3 separate regions of the Homo sapiens genome follow, and regions 1 and 2 are each linked to region 3. The links are contacts of gene promoters, found by promoter capture Hi-C in human tissues and cell types (Jung and others, 2019). All regions are on one chromosome and are shown on one strand. Each heading gives the region's core, a stretch centred on a gene start or on the middle of the fragment in contact. The rest is flanking DNA. Distances are from core to core; before and after follow the strand shown.

Region 1 (4,261 bases), core at 1,549-4,048, 950 kb before region 3:
TCAGCCTTCCCAACCTCTTGCACCTTTCTTTAAAAGAGCAATTCAGCCGAGAACAGTGTCATCCTGTGCTCAAAAAAAAAATCACTGTCCAATACCGCCACTGAAATAATCTTTAATGACAAAGTAAAGACAGATCTTGAAACAGAAAAGGATTTAAGTAAATCTAGGCAATAGCAAAGCAAATACATTTTTGTTTTGTTGAAGATATCTGGTCTTGTTCTAGATCTACCATGAAATCATTACCACTTGGTCCAGTTCAGCATAGCTCAGTAAGAGCACGGGCTCTGGAGGCTGACTGCCTGTGTTCGAGGGCTGAGTATGCCACTTACCATCTGTGTGACCTTTAGCAAGTTACTCAACCTCTCTGTACCTCAGTTTCCTTATTCGGAAAATTAGAACACTAATAGTTCCTTTCTTCCCCCTATAGCTCATTATGAGAACGAAGCATCATGTGTTTACTAAATAAATCAAACCTATGGGCCACATATGACACACAATTATGTTCAGAGACTAGCTAAAGTAATAATATTTTTTACAAGCTAGCGACTAACACTTTATACATTAAAATCAATATTTAATTTCCTTGGTTCATGTCTACCAAATATCAAGGAGGCGCGATCAGGGGAGAATTCATTAGTCTTATTCCTTTTCTTTTAAGCCTTCCTCAGAGCTCACTTTATGCAATGTACTCAGACCCCCACCACTAGCAAGGAAGCAGGAGAGGCGAGTGAACACAGATGGAATGGAGGCATGGCCACTGCTTTTATTTATGACTTTTCTTTTGTAAATATATTAATACAATGGGAAATTTTTTTTCCTTTAATTCTAACACTTGGGCCCTCAGTGCTTGGCTGAAGGACAGGCTTAATACCTCAATGTCCACTTCCTTGCCTCGGCAGAGGGATGTTTTAACGCAGATGAAATTTTAAAAGGCCAGCTCACTGATTGCTTTAAAAATGTGTGGAAACGTGTGTATTATTGACCTGGTAAATTTTCCTTCAAATTGAATGCATACACCACCACCGACAACAACAACAAGCAGCTCTACATTTAGAACTTAGTTTCTTGAAAACAGACCATCTCAGACTTCCGGCTTTATCAACACATGGCATGAGAGAAATCCGATCAAAAGAAGAATAACAAAATAAAAGACCCAACACCTAGCACAGTGAATGAATCCGGCCTAGGAGCCAGACAACTTGAATTCTACTACGGTATCTGTCACAAGACAGCCACGTGGCTTTGGGTAAGATATCCCACCAAACTGGAATACAGATTCTATGTTATATATATATATATATATATATATATATATATATATATATATATATATATATATATATATATTTTTTTTTTTTTTTTTTTTTTTAAAGGCTATCTGAGGCCCCTTCAAGTAGTAAAATGTTCTCATTCTCTAACCCACAATAGTAACACAATTCTTCTTTGGTTACAACTTCTCCAAATCAGCAAGGAAGGTAGAAGGGAGTAAAGAAAAATATGGGTTTTTCAGTTTCCTTAAAATTTCTTAGGATCATTAAACCTGCCCTACCTTTTAACCTTGAATAGAGACATACATCACAAAATAAAGCTTCCTCCACCTGTAACCACTTATTATCATATGCCAACCTCAAATAACACAAAATGGGGGAGTCCTGCCAAGCTTGTCTGTCCAAGCCACTGGCAGTGCTCAGCACATGGTAGGATGACCACCAATCAGGAATTGTACAGTAGGAGTGCCCAGACTCGGGGAGAGGCAAGCTGGCGCGTCTCCAAGGTGCTTGTCACTCACCACTAGAACGTGGTCCTTTACCACTAGACAAGATCTCCTGGTTTGACAATGCAGGTGACACAGCTGAAACTTTATCTCAACACGGCCTGAAGAATACCACTGTCTAAATATGAGATGCTAAAATACTATGACCTACTCTAATATTCTCTCCCAACTCTGTCCATCCTCGTGACTGGCACCCATGCTGGCCCAAATGATGACAACCTCCTGTTCTAAGTGCACAAGCCGCACATTTAATAAACCTTTCACCCAGTTCCTTCACTGGTGTTCATCTCTCGGCTTCACTTACAACCACTCCCTGTGGCTTTTGCAGTGAAGCCTCTTAGCCCAAAACTCTTCCACTCCCCAAACCATGTTTGGTCTGTAATATAAACAACTTCCACTCACCCTAGAAAACTGAGTGGGAATTTCAGTGCAATTATCTGCATACCTTTCCTACAGCGTTTTATCACAATTTGCAGTCCTCAGAGACGAAGGTGAAAGGGGAGGACTAAGGTGGCACCCTCCACTGAGGAGCACCGCCTCACGGGGACACTGCTTTCAGGAATGCCTCCTCGCCAGTACTCTTCCACTGAGAGACACTCTGATCTCAGAGATACAAGAAGTCTAGATGTGGACTAACCAGGCAACCAGTTCATATGCACACACTTACCCAGGCTCTGCTTTGTACCATGTCCTGTGCGAGGTGCTTTAGTCTCTATTAACCCTTTAAATCTCACAGCCTCACAACACACTGGATCATTAACCCCATTTCGCAAATAAATAAATCCAGTTTCAGAGAACGTAAGTGGCTTGCCCAAGTACTTCAGACCAAAGTCTTGTGGTTTTGACACCTTGTTCTTTTTATTCTCACTGTGACCCAGTAAGACAACCAATATCCACAATCCATATTCACAAGAAAATGCATAGCTACAATGTCACAAGGAGCCAATCCTGAATTTGCTCATCTAATGAACTATAAACCTTCAAACTGGTTATAGAAAATGCTCAGCACAGGGCAGACTGCTCAAAAAGAGAGGTCCATTGAAAACCTGTAATATTAATACTGGCTTTTTTTTTTTTTAACAAAAAACACTGGTATTATTTAATACAGCTTTAAACAGCTTTAAAATAGTTGATCACCATTTAACACCTCCCACCAGCTCCACACAAACATACATACATACACACACACACACACACACACATATACCAAAACAAAATTCATAAAATTGTCACAGGTAGATAACCTGAGGATGACGAGCATGAAGAAATGAAACGCTGGATAATCCATAAATAGTCGCGGAATCCCCAAATAACAGGCATGGTGGATACAATGTACATAATTTGTCATTTTATCTCCCAGATAGATTAAAAATCCTAAAGTAGAGAGAGAAAATAAATACGGAGCCTAGACCAAGATATCAGCTCTCTCAAGCATCTGTCTAATCGGATCCTTCCTTCAACACGTCAGGAACAGGAAGACAGAACAGGAACTCTCAGAGCAAAGGGCTGGAAGAGACTTTGCTGACTGTATAGTCCACCACTTTAATTTCCAATGAAGGAATCTCTGAGCTAATCAAACAATCTTCTTGAAGTCTTCAACCACCCTCAGTGCCAGACTAAAGCTACGATCTCTCAGTGTTCGTTTCACAGCACCACGTCTCTGCCATCATCGGAGCTGATAACCTCACTCATCATCCCCAAATATTTGTTTGGTATCCAATTTATATATAGTCATCCAGGAAATCCCACAGACTAAAATGATCACAGTGTGCCAATGTGACAAACCACTAAGGTGTGTCTTTCCTGCCCTAAAACTCAAATTACTTTTTACTCACATCATTTGCTTATGTCCACAGAAATTGGCCAAATGATTTAAATATATATTCCACACTCAGATTTCCCAGAAAAGAAATCCTACAAAAACCACCAGCATGAAATGAATGAGAATGGGACGAGTACCTTCCCCAGAAAGCAATCTCCGGGGTGCCTTTCGTGTAGATGGAGTCGCTGGCATCATTCAGCCCATTGGTGACGCCACTAGAATAGCCCATCACGATGCCACCATCTGCAGACACACTCAGGATATCCTGATGTCCTCCCCCTGATGTCCTCTCCAAGAACTGACCACCTTCTTTAATGCGCTGTTGTATCATTGGAGTGAGGGGCATTTCAAAGCTAAAATAGCTATCAGGCTCTGAGTATAATGTCTCCAGGGACTCTGCACTGTAGTATAAAGAAGTGTTGTCCAAAATGGTTTCAAACTGGGAGCTGTACACGTCGGTGGAGTCCTCCGTATATCCAGGCCCAAGGATGTCTTCATCTTCCCCCTTAACGTGCTCCTCTTGTTCGCTGATCCTGGAAAGTAAATAAGAGTGAAGAATTCCAATATTAGGTTAATGTCTTTATTTCTCCCACTTCAACCATATAAAAAGGACAACATTCTGAAGATCTAACTCTTCTATTCATTGACTTATATCTTAACATATT
Region 2 (4,753 bases), core at 184-2,683, 800 kb before region 3:
TCGTGGTGCCCATTCCATCCTCTGCCTAGTGGGCGTTTAACATCCTTTGACATCGAGGGGAATGGCAAAACGAAACATTTATTATTTAGGTCACCAACAACATTCTAAACCCACGTCCTCTAATCGGTGTTAATGTGTTTAAAAAAAAAATTCAGAACATCATTCGCCAGAACGGAAAGCTGAAAACGGCGGATAAAGTTAAATGCATGTAAAACAGAATGACTTAAACATCTGTAAAAGCTCCTGGGAATTGCACCGAATAATCTTCCCTTGTCCGTTTGCTCGCTCAATTCAAGTTTGTTTAGTTTAGTCTTTTTTTCTTTCTTTCTGACAGAAACGTGATAGTCCCTAAATACAAGCTGACCGGGCAAAGAAAGATCGGCATACGAGGTCCTCTTTCATGTTGCCTTCTTTTGATAGCTTTTCTCCAAAGTCTGAGGTTTTCAAAGCCGAGGTATGAACTAAAACCCCTAAACCTTAACACCACAAAGTTGACCCTGCTGGGCTCCTAAAAAACACAAAGCAAGCAAGCGCGAAGAGAAAAATCGCACCCTGCACCTATCCAGACAGCACAAACCCAGGTGGCCCCGGGATCCTGGGGGACAGAGCGGCGACAAAGCAACACAAACCCCACGTCGAACAGCGGCGCCGCGTGCGCACCCCGCGCCCGCGCCCCGGCCCCGGAGCTCACCGCTGCGCTCCTTCCTTCCATCTTCCATCGCCAGCCCGGCCGCGCGCCGAAACCGCCGCCGGGCGCTCCGGGGCCGCAGCCTCAGGGCGCGAGTGCCGGCGGCCAGCGCCGCGTGCTCTTTGTTGAGCTCCCGGGACTGCCGAGAGGCGGCGGCCCGCGCGCACCCTGGCGGAGGCTGGCGAGGCTGCGAGCCCGCGGCAGCCGCCCGCCCGGCCCCCAGTAACGTCAAAGCGAAGGCGGCGCAGGCGGGCCGGCGGTGGCGGGCCCCGGGGGCGGAGGGCGGAGGGCGGAGAGGCGGGGCCGACGCCTCGGGGAGGGGGGAGGTGGCTGGGCCTCCGAGGCGGGGGCGGGGTCTCCAGGGCAGGGGCGGGGCCTCCGGGGGAGGCTGGAGGCGATCCAGACCCTCGCAGTGCAGCCCTCGAGCGGCCCGGACCGTCCGCTGCCTCCCGCAGCCGCGCGCCCGCCCTGGGCCCAGCCTCCAGCCCGCGAGCGAAAACCTGCCTGTTGCTTTGTCTTCTTCCTTCACAGTTTTCCCACCCTGAGAAAAGTGAGAGGTGCTTTCCCTGGTGTTTCCTCTCAGGAAGGGCCGTGTGACTGGAGCCGCGAGTTGGGCGCCGTCTCGCCGGGGCTGGAGGTACGCGGGCTTCGGGACACGCACCTAGGCGTCCCTCGGGGTCCCGGCCTCTCTGACCGGGCTCCCCCGGCACCGATCCGCGGCCGGAGCGTTTAGTCCCGGGGACCCGTCGAGCCCTGAAAGGGCCATTTCCCCCTGAGGCGAGTCCCCCCAGGCGCCCCGCAGCCTGGCCTCGGGACTGCCCCCACCGACAGTGCGTGCGCGGGGAGAGGTCACTTAAAACTGCATTTTCGAACATTAGTGCCCCGGACCCGCACCTTTTTTCCTCCGTCCTTTGATCTGTGCCGCAGAGGCAAGGGCTGGAACGGCGCCCTCCCCTGGTAGAGGGACGGAGAGACCGCAAATCTTTCCCCCTGGGAGGTCCGTTAAGTAGATCCAAGCACCTGGAGGCGGAACCTGTGTGGCCGGCTACAGGGTGGTCCTGTGTATGTGTTACCGCCTTATTGTTCCAAAGAACAGTCTTTTTCAAGTGACAGGTAGAAGACGCCCCAATAACGAGAAGTGACTGACTTGGCCAAGCTTAGAGATGGGAGTGGAGTCAGGTTCCCTGGTGGCCCCACGATCTCGCCCACCATGTCAGCATGGGCTGCCCGGTGAGCATAGCTGAGATGCACCAAGGCCACATAAGTCACCTACTTTGCCTTGGCTGCCCCATCTGCATCTATCAAAGGAAGCCTTGGACACCCACCAGAGGAGCCAGCATGAGGGAGTGTATGCCTTTATACAAATTCACTCCAACTTCAGAAAAACGTCCGCAGCTCATGCTCCCCCTGCCAGAGCAGCAGTGTGAGCAGCTGTGTAGGTTTGGAAGCACCCCAGTCACTTGGGCATTGATATGGTTTGGCTGTATCCCCACCCAAATCTCATCTTGAATTGTAAGTCCCGCAGTTCCCAGGTGTGTGGGAGGAACCTTGTGGGAGGTGATTGAATTATGGGGGCGGGTCTTTCCTGGGCTGTTCTCGTCATAGTGAATGAGTCTCACGAGATCTGAAGATTTTAAAAATGGGAGCGCTTGTTGCACAAGCTCTCTCTTGGCCTACTGCCATCCGCTTAAGATGTGACATGCTCCTCCTTGCTTTACGCCATGATTGTGAGGCCTCCCAACCATGTGGAACTGCAAGTCCAATAAACCTCTTTCATTTGTAAACTGCCCAGTCTCCGGTGTGTCTTTATCAGCAGTGTGAAAATGGACGAATACAGGCATATTTCTCGTTTGTGATCTCCCTTTACCCTTGCGTACATACCCTACAGAGACAGTCCCAGTGTGCCTATTCCCAGTCAACTCCTGCCTTCCTTGACGGTTTTGTTGGCAAAGCATCAAAAGTAAGACCCAGTACAAAATGTAGTTGCTACCCTGAGGCTTGACCACTGGCCTACTGGCCTTTACCTGGGAAATTAACCAACTCATAAACAAACAAAAAAAAGTAATCATATAGGAGGCAGGGTGGACATAGATTTACTTGATATTTCTAGTTAAGGGACTTGGGCATAGACATCTATAATCTGAGCCTCTGTTTCCTCATTTATAAAATTGGGTTAATAATGCCATACAGAAGTGTTATTAGCATGATAAATTAAGGAAAGCTCCTGGCCTATAGTGAATGTTCAATAGAGGAGCATTTCATAAGTGAAGCCACAGAAATGTGTTTCCAATTTCCATCGCAAAGGAAATTTTTAATTGGTTTTATCCCTGAAGCCAAAATATTTTAAGATTGTACTTATAAAGCTGATCACATCTATTAAATAATCATTCATTCGTCCAGTTATAAATAATCAAAGATAAAATGGTTAGAGGTTCTGATCAGCATAAATTAGCCAGTGTTACCACTACTAAGTCAATGAAGCCTAAAGCAAATCAAATAAACATTGACATTTCATTTTTGCCAGCATGTATTTTGTGTGTAAATATTTTGTTAGGCTTTTGGAAATATTAAAAATGAAGTAAGAATCCCCATTTCTGCTACCATAGCCCCCAGTGCTCAAGTTCAGTGTCAGAATACACAAGCACCCGCCTTGGTAAAAAAAGAAAGGAGGCACGCAGACCACCTAGGCATGGGCTAGTGTATATTTATCCAATAACATATTCCTCCCCCACCTCTTCCCATGAGCCCTAATGTATGTGGTGTGGAGAGACTATATAGTAGGCAAGACATTATATACTGCAGGTCAAAAGAAGAAAAGGAAGATGAAATTCCATCATGTATTATTCATGCATACAGTTAATCCTTCCTATTTCTGAAGGTCACTGAAAAGCCCAGATTATTGAATATTTATTTTTTAGTACAACATGAACGTTTATTTAGAATGACAAAAATCTCAAATACAAATTTCTAAGAGTTGACAAATCCCACAAACATTACCAAATCCAGAAAAATCACACAATAGTTTTATCTACCACCTACATAATATTTTGTAGTAATAAACTTCCTAAAACACTTCAGTAATATTTGTCTTCACCTGTTTTCTGCTGCTATAAGAGAATACCACAGACTAGGTAATTAATAAAGAAAAGAAATGAATCTCTCACAGTTCTGGAGGCTGGAAGTCCAAGAGCACAGCAACAGCACATGGTGAGGGTGGTTCCATGGTGGAAAGCATCACATAGCAAGCAAGCACAAGAGACGGGAAGCAAATGGGGTCCAAACTTATCCTTTTGTCAGAAGCCCATTCTCTAGATAACTGACTCACTCTCTTAATAACAGCATTCATGAGAGCAGAGCCCTTATGACCCAATCACCTCTTAAAGGCCCCACCTCTTAGTCCTATTACAATGGCAATTAAATTTCAACATGAATGTTGGCAGGGACATTCAAGCCATAGCAATACTTTTTCCTCAAGTATTTTGGCTACATACTTTTTTTTTTTTTTTTTTTTGAGACAGTATCTCACTCCATTGACCAGGCTGGAGTACAGTGGTGCAATCACAGCTCACTGCAGCCTCTACCTCCCAGACTCAAGTAATCCTCCCACCTCAGCCACCCAAGTATCTGGGACTACAGGCACACACCACCAGACCCAGCTAACTTTACATTTATTTAAGATGGGGTCTCCCTATATGGCTAGGCTAGTGTCCAACTCCTGGCCTCAAACAGTCCTTCTGCCTCAGCCTCCCAAAGTGTTGGGATTACAGGCATGAGTGACCGTGCCCAGCCTGGCTACATACTCTTGATAATCTCATTGGAAAGATTTTTTTAAAACAGCTTTATCAAGATCCAATTCACATACCACACAACTCACCCATTTAAAGAGTACAAATCAATGTGTTTACTATATTCACAGATTTGTGCAATCATCACCACAGTCAACTCTGGAAACTTTTCATCATCCCCTAAAGAAACCCTATCCCCATTGGCGGTCGCTCCTCTTTTCCCTCCAAACCCCTCAGTCCCTGGCAAACACTAATTTACTTTCTGTTTCTACAGATTTGC
Region 3 (4,827 bases), core at 681-3,180:
TGCCAGCATAACACTGTAGGAGAAATGTTTAGCTGGGGACCATTCAAAATCAAGAAGCTGACTAGAAAATAACCACAAACCTTACGTTGTATTCTGGCAAAAAGTCTAGAGGCCCTCTCAAGGTTGGCATCTAAAATACATACAGAGGCTGGGCGCAATGGCTCATGCCTGTAATCCGAGCACTTTGGGAGGCTGAAGCAGGAGGATCACTTGAGCCCAGGAGTTCAAGAACTGCCTGAGCAACATAGGGAGACTGTGTCTCTACAAAAAAATTTAAAATTAGCCAGATGTGGTGGCACACACCTGTAGTCCCAGCTACTCCACAGGCTGAGACAGGAGGATGGCTTGAGCCTGGGAGGTCAAGGCTGCAGTGATCCATGATCGAGCTGCTGCACTCACTGGCAGTCTGGATTTCAGAGCAAGACTGTGTCTCAAAAACAAACAAACAAACAAAAACAGAATTTCCTTATTTAGCCTCTAAATTTAAAATCTTAATTTACAATTGTTATTCCACAGAACACTAGGCTCAGGAACAAGTGTGGAGTTGTTTTTTTATTTTTGGTAAAGACCAAAACCAGAAAGTTTAATGACCAAATCAGTCATTTTTACCATTTGAAAATTCTTACACTTCATATATTAACATCAATGAAATAATTTTAACAATTCAAGCTAGCAATCTGCTTTTATGCTGTACACTTTATAACATAAAAATTATCCTACTCCGTTTAAATCCAATTTTCTACCATCTTCTATTCTACAAACCCAAAATAACTGTATCACTGAGTAATCCTGGCCCATAAAGTAATCATACAGTTATGCTGTTCTGTGCATAAGTAGGAGATATTAAACAGTGCTTCGAAGCCCAGCACGGTGGCTCATGCCTGTAATTTCAGCACTTTTGGGAGGCGAAGGAGGGCGGATCACCTGGGGTCGGGAGTTCCAGACCAGCCTGGCCAACATGGTGAAACCCCGTCTCTACTAAAAATACAAAAATTGGCCGGGCTAGCGCGTCGTGGTGGACGCCTGTAATCCCAGCCACTCGAGAGGCTGAGGCAAGAGAATCTCTTAGATGGAGAATCTCCTAGATGTTTTTCATCTCTTAGATGGAAAACAAATCTGGAGTTTTGGTGAAAAGGACATTGATTGTGGCTGGAGGAGATAATTATAATAATAGCGTAGTTATCTTTCTGTGGGTTTCACGTCCAGAACATTTAAAACATATAAAACCCTTGCTGGGTCAGGGTTTTAGTCATCTTTGCAGCTCCCACGGACGGCATCCACCAAAGCGCTTTCCAAGTACTTCGTTGCTCAATAAACGTTTGTTGGAGAAACCGGTGCATAAAGGTGAAATAATAAAACGTGGACGGATTTCGGAAAGAGAAGGAACCCCGGAGCTCACGCTTTGCACGATCACCCCCACCAGCCCCAGGAGTTTTCGCGTAAATCGAAGCCCGGGGAGTGAGTCGCAGGCAGCGGCCCCCGGGGAAGGTGTTTCAGGCCGGCCCGGGTGGAGAGTGCTTCCCGCCGCCTCCCCGACCCTCTGCTGTTCCTCTCAAACTTCTTCTCAACCTTCCACGCCGGGGGGACGCCCAGGGACCGCCCATTCCCCGGGACCGCCCGTCTCCCCGCCCCCGCCTCCGCCCCCGCCCCCGACAAACTGAGCAATACCCAGAGAGGATGGAAATGGCGAAGAGGCCTGGCGCCTGCCCGCTCCCGCGCATGCTCCCTGACTTCACCAAGGTCACGCTGCAGCCCGCAGGAATGAAAATCCACTTCTCCGCATTTTCGAGGTGACCTGGAAGCGGTTCAACTGCTCTGGCTTCTCAGAAGAGGAGGGGACCGGGCGGTAACGAGGAGCCAAGGGGAGGAGACTGCTCGCAAAACCCGGAAAAGCTTTCCCGATCCACTCTGCCAGCCTCCGTGCGCCTCCAGACATGCGCAGTAGCCTCCCCCGCGGTGGCGGCGGCGGCGGCGGTGGCTGCCGTGGCGGCTGAGAGTCCAGAGCCGGACGTTCCGGCCGCTTCGGGCTGGCGGCTGGAGAGCGCTCGGGTCATGTCTGCCCAGGGGGACTGCGAGTTCCTGGTGCAGCGAGCCCGGGAGTTGGTGCCGCAAGACCTGTGGGCAGCCAAGGCGTGGCTGATCACGGCCCGCAGCCTCTACCCGGCAGACTTTAACATCCAGGTGAGGTCCCGGCTGTGCATGCGGCCGCTCTGCGTGGAGGTGCGCGCTCCCGTCGCCCGGGCTGCCCTGGCCCAGAGCTGCGCCTGCCTGGGGGCTGCCGCCTCCTGCCCGGCCCCCTGCTTTCTCCCCTCCCACCCCCTCCTCTCTCCCCTCCCATCCTACACCTTGCTCCTACACCTTTCACCCGCCTTGCTCCTACACCTTCCAGGAGCCCTCTCCCCAGCACTTGAGAGACGGCCGATCCCGCTTGAGGTCGGGTGTGCTTAGGTCCCTGGGGCTCAGCGTGCCATCTGGCCTAGACAGCACATGATCGCCACTAGCAAAAGGCCATTCGCTCCTTCATTCATCATAATGGCAGCAGTTTGTTCAGGGCCTGCGACTTTGGAAATATTATCCTACTTAATCCTGGGAGCCTGAGATTGCAGGTGAACCCCAGGGTCACACTCTAAGCCCAATGGCAAGTCTGCCATGTATGTGGCGCTGTGTCACCAGGCGGAGCTTCACTCTCAGGCCCTCCCTTCCTGCAGGAGGGCCAACGAGCGATGCTGGATGAGCTGGGAGCCTTCTGGGCAGGGGTGAGTGACCAGGGTGCCTGATGTGTGTTGCAGTATGAGATGTACACCATCGAGCGGAATGCAGAGCGGACCGCCACCGCCGGGAGGCTGCTGTACGACATGTGAGTGGGACGCTTGACATCACTTTTACTGCACTGAATCTCTCCATGAGGTTTTGTTTCTCTCTGCAGAAGTGGGAGTTGGGGGAAGATCTTCAAGTTCATCTATATCTTCGATACCTAAAGCAAACCTAGTAAGGAGTCCAGGCCTGCCATAAATTGCTGACATGGCTTTTGCAGAAGAGTTTAATTATTATTCTTATGTTTTATCCTTGTTAAAACTTCTGTTTCATAATTTATTCTAGAAATAATATGTGCTCATTACAAAAATTCAAACACTACTTGTTATAGAGAACAAAAAGTGAAAGTGCATCCTAAACTGAACCAGAGTTAAGTTTTGTAGGCAGTATATCTATACATGTATGCATAATACATAAATAAGGTTTTGGGGGGAAGGGGTTACAAAAGTGAGAAGACCATACTACCTTTGCCCTGCAGCATGTTTCCTTTACTCACTCTCATGGACCCCTTCCCATATCAGTATGTAGAGATCCACTTCATTCCTTTTCATGCCTGTGTAGTATTTCGTAGACACTCTCTTCTTGGTAGACATTTAAATAGATAGTTTTAAATTATTTGAAATTATATTCAGTGTGTCAACAATTTTGTAGTCATATTTTGGTGTTTTTCTGTGGAATAGATTCTAAGACATTTTCATAGTCAAAGTTTATGCGCATTTGAAAATTTGATACGCTATGAAATTACTCTCCAAAATGTGCGATCCCAGTCTACATTACCACCAATGGTGTATAAAGAGTGTGTTTTCCCATACCCTTCCCAACACTGGATATTATTAGTCTCTTTTTAGTTCTTGTCACTGTGATAGGAGAAAATGGTATCTTGCTATTTTAAAAAAAAATTTGTACTACTCATACTGTTAATAAGATTCAGTATTGTTTCAACTGTTCTCTTTGGCTGTGTGTATTCTGTGATTTGCCTTTGCCTATTTTTTCTTTCAAATAGTTTGTTTTATTCTTGTTGACTTTTAGAAGCTCTTTCTATGTTATGGTTACTTGTCTTTTCACCTATAAAACCCACTAAAGACTTATGTGAGTACTCTCATTTTTATAAATCAAGTAATTCTTATTTTTACATTTTTATTTTGGTTTGTTTTGGCACGTCTAAGCATTCACTTGGAATAAAGGAAACTTTTTCACCAAATGCTAACGTTTTTTCTTTTGGATACTGTATAGACTTTGACATTTTAATTTAATGTATTTATTTTAAAAATAGGTTTGTGAATTTCCCAGACCAGCCGGTGGTGTGGAGAGAAATCAGCATTATTACATCAGCATTAAGGAACGATTCACAGGACAAACAAACCCAATTTTTAAGAAGTAAGAATAATGGTGTATAAGTTACCATTTCGGGAATACCAAATCATATATAGTAATTTCACACACAAAAAAGTCACACCTGGGGTATTGGTAACCATATGTATGTTTTATTCTTGGCAACCAAAGTCTATAATAATGTCACTCGGTTCCTTGACTTGCTTAGAACCCTTTAAGCTTCTTTAAAGGATATGGATTTATCAGTGAGACGAGGAATTAATTGTATATATTTTTAACAGGTTTTACAATAACCAGATAGCAGCTATAGATTAACCAGCTCTCCACAAAACAGGAGAGAAGCTTTTAGTAATTTAGAAGCTTTCTCTTTAAACTTCTGTATGTTGCTGTAGTCAATCAAAGATTTCAAACTCTAGATAAAATAGCAAGTAGATGCATAGGTCATTTGAACTTCAACAAGCACATGCTCTCTATCTCAACCTGCAACAGGCATTCTTGTGACCATTCACATACATCATTGTTTTTTGAATTTGATCAGTCTTGCAAATATTTTACCATTATTCAGCAAACATCCTGTGCCAGATACTATTGGCTCCAAAAGGCTGCCAGGTTGTAGGTGAAACTTAACTGCATTGATTTCACATGTAGTGTTTACTGTTCTGTACATGAAAATGCCTTACT

Evidence for each region. Contacts are between HindIII fragments. The study calls those that stand out against the background at their distance.
Region 1: a contact is called between a fragment that was not itself captured here and the fragment with the promoter of INTS10 in region 3, in 1 of the 25 tissues and cell types used here (hippocampus).
Region 2: a fragment that was not itself captured here is called in contact with the fragment with the promoter of INTS10 in region 3 in 1 of the 25 tissues and cell types used here (hippocampus).

What each region holds. Positions count from the first base shown.
Region 1 is chr8:18,863,941-18,868,201 of GRCh38, forward strand. It overlaps PSD3 (pleckstrin and Sec7 domain containing 3), which reads right to left. Exons shown (of 16, transcript NM_015310.4): 4 at 3,734-4,129. Among named protein-coding and RNA genes, the nearest start is that of PSD3-AS1, 150 kb to the left of the region's middle. The HindIII fragment of the contact is 4,896 bases long and covers 351-4,261 here.
Region 2 is chr8:19,012,872-19,017,624 of GRCh38, forward strand. It overlaps PSD3 (pleckstrin and Sec7 domain containing 3), which reads right to left and starts at 832. Exons shown (of 16, transcript NM_015310.4): 1 at 692-832. The coding sequence starts at 712. LOC124901898 (a long non-coding RNA gene) reads left to right here and starts at 1,132. Exons shown (of 2, transcript XR_007060840.1): 1 at 1,132-1,325. RefSeq lists silencers at 716-815, 886-975. The HindIII fragment of the contact is 4,673 bases long and covers 1-3,770 here.
Region 3 is chr8:19,815,486-19,820,312 of GRCh38, forward strand. INTS10 (integrator complex subunit 10) reads left to right here and starts at 1,931. Exons shown (of 17, transcript NM_018142.4): 1 at 1,931-2,181; 2 at 2,790-2,857; 3 at 4,088-4,191. The coding sequence starts at 2,053. RefSeq lists silencers at 1,512-1,651, 2,172-2,301 and enhancers at 1,802-1,881, 1,922-1,981, 2,482-2,571, 2,782-2,871. The HindIII fragment of the contact is 14,804 bases long and covers 1-3,129 here.